Linked DNA regions of Homo sapiens: all the other regions are linked to region 2. Evidence: promoter capture Hi-C in 16 types of primary human blood cells and fetal thymus (Javierre and others, 2016). All regions are on one chromosome and are shown on one strand. Each heading gives the region's core, a stretch centred on a gene start or on the middle of the fragment in contact. The rest is flanking DNA. Distances are from core to core; before and after follow the strand shown.

What was found. Contacts are between HindIII fragments. The CHiCAGO score rates a contact against its expected background, and 5 or more counts as called.
Region 1: a fragment that was not itself captured here is called in contact with the fragment with the promoter of UBE2V2 in region 2 in 1 of 17 cell types (total B cells); the score reaches 5.4 in total B cells.
Region 3: a contact is called between a fragment that was not itself captured here and the fragment with the promoter of UBE2V2 in region 2, in 1 of 17 cell types (total B cells). The highest score is 5.4, in total B cells.

Annotation. Positions count from the first base shown.
Region 1 is chr8:46,921,147-46,924,817 of GRCh38, forward strand. No RefSeq gene overlaps it. Among named protein-coding and RNA genes, the nearest start is that of LINC00293, 82 kb to the left of the region's middle. The HindIII fragment of the contact is 404 bases long and covers 1,438-1,841 here.
Region 2 is chr8:48,006,925-48,010,318 of GRCh38, forward strand. It overlaps UBE2V2 (ubiquitin conjugating enzyme E2 V2), which reads left to right and starts at 1,507. Exons shown (of 4, transcript NM_003350.3): 1 at 1,507-1,546. The coding sequence starts at 1,531. RefSeq lists silencers at 1,213-1,472, 1,703-1,902. The HindIII fragment of the contact is 2,629 bases long and covers 1-2,284 here.
Region 3 is chr8:46,903,399-46,907,033 of GRCh38, forward strand. No RefSeq gene overlaps it. Among named protein-coding and RNA genes, the nearest start is that of LINC00293, 64 kb to the left of the region's middle. The HindIII fragment of the contact is 7,035 bases long and covers 1-3,635 here.

The sequences.
Region 1 (3,671 bases), core at 390-2,889, 1.1 Mb before region 2:
TTTAAATTAGATCTCCAGGGAAAGGAGGAGAAAGGGTCAGAAGTTCTCATCTCAGTGCACACAGCCTGTGTTGCTTATCCTCAGAGGGCCCTGGAAAGGAGAATGAGCTGCGGAGTTGTCTGGGTGAAGGGGACTGGAGGCCAGGGGCTCCCCTGGAGAAGGACAGGTCAGGGCTCAGGGGAAGGAGGAACAGGCTGGGTGGGGCAAAAATTGGTGTCACCCCTCCTCTCCCATGGGCTTGCTTTGGGACACGTGCTCCCAGGGCAGCACAGTCTGTCTGCAGTCAGACCCAGGAGAATCAGACGATGCCTGGCAGATGACACATTGCCAGCAGACACTCGGAAGATGGCTGAGTGATAAATGAATGGACAGGGCACCGAGGAAGCTGTGCCCCTGCTGCCCATCACAAGGTCCTGCAGTGCCCTGCCCTCCTGCCCCACACTGTGCTAGGTGTTCATGCCAGCCCCTCACCCACCAAGTCACTCCTGTCTCTTGCCGATGTCCCAGAGGATGTGGGGTGAGACCCACCATCCACATGTGCCATGCACTGGCTCTGCTGAAATAAAGAAGATCCCTCTGGGTTAGGGAGGGCAGGTGAGAGGCCCTGGGGTCTGCACAGGTGGTGTCGGCTCAGGTTCCGCTTCTGCCTGCCAGCTGTGTGTCATGGGCAGATCAGCTCATTCTTCTAAAGCTCAATTTCCACTTCCACAGAACGCAGGCAACAGCAGCCCTTCATGGGGCTCTTGTGAGTCCTGTTATTTATCACACATGGAGTGTCTCCTAGAATTCTCTGGCACACAGTAGGAGCTTAATAACTGTTACTACCGTCATTCACAGATCCCAAAAGAATCCTTGATTGCTCTTTTATTCTGTTCCCAAATATGCTTACCTGCCTCTGTGCAGAGACCTTTGGGGATGGGGAAGGCGGTGAAGGGGGAGCACGTGGGCTCTGCCCCACCAAGCTCTTAGACACACCTGTTCCTATGCTGGGCTGCTGAGCCATGGATGGTCGCCTGGCCAGGGAGGTGCCCATCAGCACATCATGACTGACTGGAATGGAGCTGGGACAGACCTAAGGATGCAGCATTCTACAGATGAGAGCTGAGGCTCAGAGGAGTGAGGTGGCTTCAGCCACTCCAGCACAGCCATGCCTGTCCCCGGGTAGGCTCTGCTGTAAGCCATCCCTCCCCACTCCAACCCTGTTAGCTGGATTCCATTGTTCTCTCTGTTTTCTGGATAAGGAAACAGACTCAGGGTCACATGAAAATGAAATCCAGCTCTTCCCAACTCAAAAGCCAGCTGTGACTTCCTGTTGGCTGGGAACTGGCCCAAAGGCAGCCTGTGTGCCCTGTCCTCGAAGTGTCACTCAACCTTTCCTGTAAAAAATAGAACAACAGCACAGAAGCACTCCCATAAACTCACTGCCAGTGGGAAGAAAGCTTCAGAATGCAGAAAAGCTACCCAGCCTCCATGCCAGATGAATCTGAGAATCAGGAAAACTGGGGTCAAAAACCACTTAACGGGAGCCCAACTCCCAAGGAGCTCTTAGGAGACAAGGAGGAGTCAAGCCTTGGATTCCAGGCATTATCTGATTCCTTCCAAGCACGATCCCCAGACCCCAGATGCCAGGCCACCCACAGAGCCCTGACGTCCTCCTGTGGACACCCTCCCAGGGAGATGCCCATACTCCCCCAGGGATAAAGTCGCTTGGATACCACAGATGCTGCGGCCACACGGTGATGCTGGAGACTGGATGGAACTATAAAACATCAAGTTGCCTTTGAGAAGCTCTAGGGTCTGCAGCCCCAGCACCTGCACCTAGGTAGGATTTTTTCACCCCAAGCTTTTCTCTGTCTTGCATCCTTGCCGCCTTTCTGCCTATCTTCTCCATCTTCCTGGGAGCGGTGTTTGGCCTGCTCGCCCATCCACCTCAATGCACATGCCAGTCTCGGTTACTTGCCAACACCATGCAAGCTGCGGAGACACATAGAAGATGCACAACGTTTGCTCCCTGTCTACAGGGAGATGGCAGTCTCAGAGACGAAGCCAGACAAATGCCTCTGTCGTTTAAATCAATCATGTCCAACTACAATTGAGGACAAAGTAAGAGGACTGGTGATCTAATAACAGGAATTTAGAGAAGTGGGAACTCACCGAGTGGTCGGAGCCATCCTCCTGTGTTCAGGCTTGATGCATGAGTAAGATTGTACTATGTGGAATGGAGAGGAAGGGTGTGCTCGGCAAGAGGAACAGCAAGTGCAGAGGCTCAGAGGTTAAAGAGAGGAAACCAGAATGAGGAGTGAGGGCCAGAGTTGGGGCCAGAGAGAAATGCAGCTAGACTCTTATGGTAGTGGTGTGCTTAGCTGTGGTCTGTGCAGGATAGTTTCCGAATAGAGCAGGGAGACATGAATGCCCTGAGATCAAGGGCAGTGGGAAAGTGCCTTGTGGGGAGCCTGGTGTCTGCAGGCAGGCAGAGCAGGGACCAGGAATGGCTGATGGCTGGAATCGCTAAGCCGCATAGGATGGACTATTATAAGTTCAGCACCTGGACACTGGCCACTTCAGATCTGTCTATACTCAGTTGTAATCCAGGCCTTTACCATTGTCCTCCATATTTCCACCCAGCTTTCTTTTCCATTTATTGGAGAGCCAGGCCACCTGGGTTCTGGTGCTGCTGGATTCAGGCCCTGCCCTCAGGCTCATGGCAAGCAGGTAGACAAAGAGAAAAGTAGACAAAAAAGATGGGGAGAAACCACTAAGCCAATACCATACCCACATAAACTCCAAACTCACATGTCTTTTAACATGGCACTGGGTGCTCCTGCAGTGGAAATCCACACGTGTTGTGGTTACAGCATCTTGTCTCTGAAAAAACTTCACAACCACCATTGTGCTTTGCCCCGCATGGCCCTGCTCAGGGGTAACTGTCCATCTTCCCTAAAGGAGGAGAGGCTGCCTGATGTTCAGGGAGCCCAGAGGTCTTGGCCAAAGCCACAGCAATGCCTGTGGATATAGGCCCACAGAGCAGCCCTACTCAAACTAGGCCCTGGCCCATCAGAATGCTCTGCCCTACAAGCCCTGCCATCCCACCACCCACCCCTCTGCTGGGCCTTGTTGGGCTGCCATGGGAATGTGACTGGCCAGCTCTCAGTGCCCTGAAACCCATGAGGTAGACCATCGGGCCAGCCCAGCTGTTCTTGGATCCTTCCTGATGCATGCCAACATCTGGGGCCACTTGGGTCCCAAGGAGAATTGTTGAGCACCAGGGCAAGAAGCATAAGGACTCACACCATCCCTCCCAGGTTCCATCACCCATCACTTCACCTGGGCTTGCATGAGCAGCCCCATCAGGCATGAGAAGCACATAGCATGTCCTGCCCATGGGGAGGCCTCCCAGGGGAAACAGGCCAGGCTGGGGGGCCATGGGGCTTTACAAACATCTCAAAGGCAGCAAAAGGAGGACTTTTCCTCAGCCAATAGCACCCCAGGATTTGAGCCGAAAGTAGGATTCAAGACACATGACTCCTTGCTAGAGGGATGCCATTTTTAGGGTGAAAGTTTCCCCCAGTGAAAAAACTATGCCAGGAGGCCAGCTCAGGTCAGCATCTCCAGTGCCAAACTCAAACAGATAGTTGATGTCTGGTGATAAATAGTGAAAACTTCAAGGAAAG
Region 2 (3,394 bases), core at 257-2,756:
GGGTGGAGTGCAGTGTCGCCATCTCGGTTCACTGCAAGCTCCAACTCCCGGGTTCACGCCATTCTCCTGCCTCAGCCTCCCGAGTAGCTGGGACTACAGGGGCCTGCCACCATGCCTGGCTAATTTTTTGTATTTTTTTTTTTTTAGTAGAGACAGGGTTTCACTGTGTTAGCCAAGATGGTCTTGATCTTCTGACCTCGTGATCCGCCCGCCTCCGCCTCCCAAAGTGCTGGGATCCATGCCCGGCCAAAAGCATTCCCTTTGAAAGCCGGCACAAGACAAAGATGCCCTCTCTCACCACTCCTATTCAACATAGTATTGGAAGTTCTGGCCAGGGCAATCAGGCAAGAGAAAGAAATAAAGGGTATTCAATTAGGAAAAGAGGAAGTCAAATTGTCTCTGTTTGCAGATGACATGATTGTATATTTAGAAAACCCCATAGTCTCAGCCCCAAATCTTCTTAAGCTGACAAGCAACTTCAGCAAAGTCTCAGGATACAAAATCAATGTGCAAAAATCACAAGCATTCCTATACACTAATAACAGACAAACAGAGAGCCAAATCATGAGTGAACTCCCATTCACAATTGCTACAAAGAGAATAAAAATACCTAGGAATACAACCTACAAGGGATGTGAAAAATCTTTTTTTTTTTTTTTTTTCAGTTTTATGTAGAGACTAGGTATCACTATGTTGTCCAAGCTGGTCTCAAAGTCTTGGGTTCAAGCCATCCTCCTGCCTCAGCCTCCCAAAGTGTTAGGATTACAGAAGTGAGCTTCGGCGCCCAGCCTGTATTACTTTCCTTTTTCTTTCTTTCTTTTTTTTTTTTGAAATGGAGTCTCCCTCTGTTGCCCAGGCTGGAGTGCAGCGATTTCTGCTCACTGCAGCCTCACCTCTTGGGCTCACGTGACCCTCCCACCTCAGCATCCCTAGCTGTTCAAATTTATTGTCCAACTCTTTTGAATCGTTTATCAACGCAAATCTGTCAATGCCCACTTATTTTTATTTATTTTTTTGAGGCGGAGTCTCGCTCTGTTGTCCAGGCTGGAGTGCAGTGGCGCAATCGCGGCTCATTGCCCCTCCGCCTCCCCGGTTCAAACGATTCTCGTGCCTCAGCCTCCCAAATAGCTGGGATTACAGGCGCGCGCCACCACGTCCGGCTAATTTTTGTATTTTTAGTAGAGACGGGGTTTCGCCATGTTGGCCAGGCTGGTTTCGAACTCCTGACCTCGGGTGATCCGATCGCCTCGGCCTCCCAAAGTGCTGGGATTACAGACGTGAGCCACCGCGCCCGGCCCTCATGAACTTATTCTTTAGCGTTTCATTTTGAGAGCGGGATTCACAAGGGAATTGCGGAAACAGCAGCGAGGCCCCGCGACCCCTCGGCCCACGTGCGCGCTGTCCCTCGGGTCGCCCCGCGCCCGCCGGGGGCGGAGTCCGCTGTGACGCGTGCAGGGCGGCGCGCTCCCGGAAGTGACGCGCGACGGTTCGTGCGTGCGTGCGGGCGGCTGCGTCGGGCTGCAGGAGAAGATGGCGGTCTCCACAGGTCGGTTCCCGGGCCGGGCTGCGTGATTTTCCGCTCCGACCCGGCTCTGCCCCTCCGTCTGCTGCTGGCGCCCGAGCGCTGACCGTGCGGGAGAAGCCCGAGTGCGCTGTCTCGAATGCCGCGCTCTCCGCAGAGCGTAGCCTGGGACCGGGTGGGACCGGCGCCGAGGCCCCGGCGGCCGTCGGGTTGGCGGGTCGTGCTCGCGCGTCGGCCGCGCGCCGGCGGGCTGGGGGCGGGGTGGCTCCCGCGCGGGCGCCCCCGTAGGTTCCGGCGGGCGCGGGTCCGAGTTGTAGGCTGAAGGCTCTACGGGAGGGAGGCGAGGAGGCCCAAGGTGGGCGGGTGTCAACCTCCGGCACCGAAGATGGGTCAGGCCAACCGGCACCGAAGATGGGTCAGGCCAAGAGGTGTCCTGGATCAGAGTAGGGGTCCCATTCCTTTGGACTCTCCTTGACATGGGTTGGGGAGTAGAGGACGATTGCTCCTTAAAATAAGAGCGAGAGGATCTTTCTTACCTGACTGAATACGTGTGATCTTTTTATTATTTATGAGGAAAACTGCAGTGCAAACAAAATAAAAGACCAGAGCAAGATGAAAGCTAATTGAAGAACAAGTGGTTTCTTAGATAAGCTGTTCAACTCCTCTTTCCTACTGAATACAATGTTTGGTTTCCTGTGAGCACACAAGTATTAACGTTGAGGTTTTAGACATTAGACCATTTCAGAAATGTTAAAAACGTTAAGCTTTAGTTTACATTTAAAAATGTTAACCCGTGTGATCTGCCTTTTTCTTTTCTTTTCTTTTTTTTTTTTTTTTTGAGTCAGAGGCTCACCCTGTTGCCCAGTTGGAATGCAGTGGTGTGATCTCGGCTCACTGCAACCTCCACCTCCCAGGTTCAAGTGATTCTCCTGCCTCAGCCTCCCAAGTAGCTGGGATTACAGGCGCGTGCCACCAGGCCCGGCTAATTTTTGTATTTTTAGTAGAGACGGGGTTTTGTCATGTTGGCCAGACTGGTCTCGAACTCCTGACCTCAGGTGATCCGCCCACTTCGGCCTCCCAGAGTGCTGGAATTACAGGTGTGAGCCACCGCGCTCGGCCTGATCTGCCTTTTCCTAGTCTTCGTTGAAACAAGAGTATAGAGCAGTGTGATTTAATAGTTTATGCCATCATTGCATAATAAAATGAATTTTCAAATCTATATGTACTGAAATGGAAGGCTTTGAATATATGTTGTAATTGTTGCTTTAGAGTAATACCTCAGGATACATTCTGCATACATTTTAATTAAGTGGTGTCTTTTACATCTTTATTACATATAGGTGTCATAGGTTTTAAGATCTTTAGCAGTTCTAGTGTTGGGGTAGTATACATACTTGGGTCAGCTAGCTAGTAAGGCAAGGATTGTTTTAAAAGTGGAATTTTAGTGTTATGACTTTACTGTGCTTGCTGAAATCTAATCTGTGCTCGTTAACGGGGCCATATCTTTATAACAGTTGTGCTTAGGACCTCTTATAGATTTTTGAAAATTTAGTAATAAAATAATGCATTTTAATTTAATACTTTTCATTTTCCTTTTGTGGGTTGCATTATTAAACACAATTTTTTCATAACACTATACATGAGTGTATGTTAATATTTTGAAAAGACCAAAGGTTAGATGATATTAATGGCAAATACTTTTTGTTAATCACTTTTAGTTGTTTTGGAAGTTGAATATAAATTATAAAGATTACTGATAAATTATTAGCATATTGTACATAGGGAGTCTGTATTTTTTTTTTTTTTTTGAGATGGAGTCTCGCTGCATTGCCCAGGCTGGAGTGCAGTGGCATGATCTTGGCTCACTGCACC
Region 3 (3,635 bases), core at 801-3,300, 1.1 Mb before region 2:
GCTGCTTCAGAAGGCACCCAGAAAGCGTCTTCACAGCTCCACAGCCACTTGCAGTGGTGATGTGGAAATGTATTCAAGAGATACCTGGACCAGATGCTGGAAAAAGACCTGGAAATGTCAGGTCCCCGCTTTTCAAACTGCTGCCCTGTGGCCAGGGACAGAGTCCCTGCTCTGGGGAGATGAGACAGCCCCTGCTGGGATCGATCGCCCTGCCTCTTGTCTCAACTTAGAGCAGTGTTTGCTAATGTCTCTTGCATTAAGAACAGGGAAAAAGAAAGGAATCAGGGCAGCCTCATCTTACAATCTGGTAAGAGGAGACAAGCATGTGTGTATTAGGTTTCTGTCATATGCCATTTCCTTTACAAATATCATGTCATGTAACATGCACAATTCTCTGAAGAATTGTTACTGTATTTATTTTCATGAATGCTCTCACATAAGTCTCTTCAGGATACAGAGGCCACTGTGTCACCCAGGTTCTCACCAAGAGGTAGATATTCACCTAAACTTTGTGACCTCAGGTTCAGAGACCCTGCTTATGCACCTCCTTTGCCAAAGCTAACCTGGCATCATTCTCTGTCCAAACTCTGCTCTCCAACCAGTACAAGTTTTGCCTCTTCCACGAAGCTCCACCCAGGCACCCATTCTTGGTCTGCATCTTCTCACTGCCTGTAGTCAGGGTGAGTCTTTGGCACTGGGCATCTGCCGTCTGCTACTCAGGTTGTGTAATTATTCTTGTGTACACAAGTCTGTCTCATTTGTGCTTACAAATTTCTTATGGGCCTCTAACACTATAAAACAAGCCAGTGCTCTAATTTTACAGATGAGAAAACTGAGGTTCAGAAAGTCCTACGAAAACTTCAGTGGGTCATGCAACCAGTAAATTTTGGCTCCAAGAATGATCTTCTTTTATCTGCACTCTGTTTTTAATAGACAAGAGCCAAAGGAAGTCAATACAAACAAACACAACAGCTATTTAATTACAAGGGATGTGATACTACAGAGAGAAGATTGTCTGGTTTCTCTTTATGAAAACTTTAAAAGAAAGAGTAAATACTCCTCTGTATGGGAAGGCTAAGATGCAATTCTACTCAAAAAATCTCCAGACTGCAAAATATGGTGTTCCAGTCTTTCTCTGGCTTGTGAAAGAGTGACTCTCCTGGTGTTTCCTGCAGTGCTATTCTAGCTCCTGGCATTGCCTGGGGCGGCCATTGGCAGAGAGTGGAAAATGCTATGGCTCATCCCAGCACTCCCAGAGACCGTGAGGTCCTAGGGGCTGCACTGCCAGAGAGCCACTGACAATTTCATAAGGTTCGTTTACCCTCACTGCTTCATCCCTTATGGTTATTTGTCTAAAAGCTAATTTAAAAATGCATCTGCATCCTTAAGAAGACACTGCAGATGGATTCCAGAGCTGTAACTTTCTTCCTCTCTGACAAGGCATTGTGCAATGCACTGACTGAAGGACCTGACTCAGCTACTCATGCTGGGCTTTCATGGCTTCAGGAACTGATGATTCCAGAGGTTTGTCCAAGACTTATCCGGACAAATTTTTAAAATGGTCATCCCAGTAAGCAGCTCTTCTGCTGCTTAAAGCTAAAATACAATCATGCTTTTCTCTTCATAACCCTCTCTCCAGCCAACCCATGTCCCCCACATGTTCCCACCAAGTCTCCATCCCTTTGCTTTGGGGCATCCTCCCCCTCGCTGGTTCTCTGTCTCCAGACCCCTCTGACACCTCTGGGCCCTGCTACCAGGGCTCTTGCCTCAGCATACCCTATTGTTCTTTCAGCTCCCTGTTTTCTATAGAAAGATCTCGTTATTAAGAATCCCATCAGCCCGAGGGTAGGAAACCTGGTAGGAGGGCTCACATGCAGTACAGGGCAGGGCTCAGGGCACAGGCTCTGCAGCTAGAATGCCTGGGGCTGAAACCCAGATCTGCTGCTCATGACCCATACTCCAGGCCTCACTCTCCATCTGTGAAATGGGAATAATAATTGTACTACTGAATAGTCACCACACGTAGGAAAAACACGTGGAAAACCACCTTATATCTAGCAGATGCTTAGTGAACGTTATCTATTGATATTGTTACTTTTCCATAGTAACTTCCCCATACTCCCTTCAAATACCCCCAGTTCCCCAGGCTTCACTGTAGCTGATCCAAGCATAAGCCAGGGATTCTGGCATGAGCGGGGTGAGCTCCTAGGGCTGCACATAAAGTAGACCCATCTAGAATAATGCCTTATGATGGAAGAGTTATTTTCTTCTGACTATCTGAGCCAACTGAAATCTGCTTCAAATGAAGCATGTGACTGTGTGGTCAGTCCGTCTTCACAGACAGCAGTGATAAAAGCTGGTGTGCATCAGCCACCCACCACATGCCAGGGGTTCTGGCTGACCCGGACATGCACTTGCCCTATGCTCACAGTGGGCCTGCAAGGGGGCACCACAACCCCACTTTGTAGGTGGAGACAAAGAGGCTCAGAGAGGCTGGTGATGCAGCCAAAGTCACCCACTGGTGAGAGGCAGAAATCAGACTTGAAATTGAATCTTCTGACTCTAGATCTACAGGGAGCTGAGCCTGGGTTCCTTCCACTTTCAATGTTCATGATTCTGTGATCCTAACACTGGTTCTTATTCCATGAGGGTGAAATGGCTTGGTTTTCAGGCCTTAGAGAGACCTTATCTGATAGCTCCTGGCTTCTGTACTTCTTGAACTACATTCTCCTGTCCCCTCCAGCCTGGGATCTGGGTCTGGCCAGAGGCAGGACCTACCCGGTGATCTTAGGAAGCCCCAGGCCTGAAAAAACTCAGGATCAGGTCCAAGTAACTGCATTTTTGGACTGTTGGCCTTTGGGAAGCAGGATGACAGTGAGGGAAATACTGGTGATTTTCATAGAGGATTTTGAACCTTGTCTGATGGAGATAATGAAGCTCCTGCCCCCTCACATGTGTGGCCCATTTTGCTGCTGGGGAATAATGCTAGGTCTCTCTTGTCTTTGCAGATCCTGGCCTGCTCTTGCACACATATCTCAAGCCCCACACCCCGGGTTCCTGGATCATCAATTTGTCTAAGCCTCCAGAGCCTCCACCGGCTCATGGCCTGAGAATGGGATCTGTCTGGCAATCAATCTTTTTCAGCAGTGCTGAAGATCTAACCTCACAGAAAAGAGTCTAAGGCAAAAAACGAAAGCCAGCTTTTGCCAGGCAAAGCACCTTGTGCCTCTCCCAGGCATCTAGCATGCTCCTGCATAGCCCAGGCTCAGCCTGGGGCCTCTCGCTCTCATCAGGGCACGTGCAGACAAGGAGCCACCGTTCAACTTCACAGAGAGGCCACATTCTTGCCCTGGTCTTGAAAGAATCCCAGACTGTAATGGAAAAGGATCGACGTGGGAGAAAGAGGTTTGCTCACTTTCTGACTTGTTCTCTCGTGCTCACCTAAATCTCTGTCTTTGGACATCGCCCTCAGTGCTGTCAGGAGTCTGGATGCACAATTGGGGTCCTCTGCACCAATTCTCCCCTGGGCAGACACCTGGAAATATCTGGGTTTGCTCAGGGCCTGCTCCTCCTACTGCAGCAAGTGTTCCTGCCAGGACCCTGTAAACAGAGAAGGCATGCATCCTCTGCAGGGA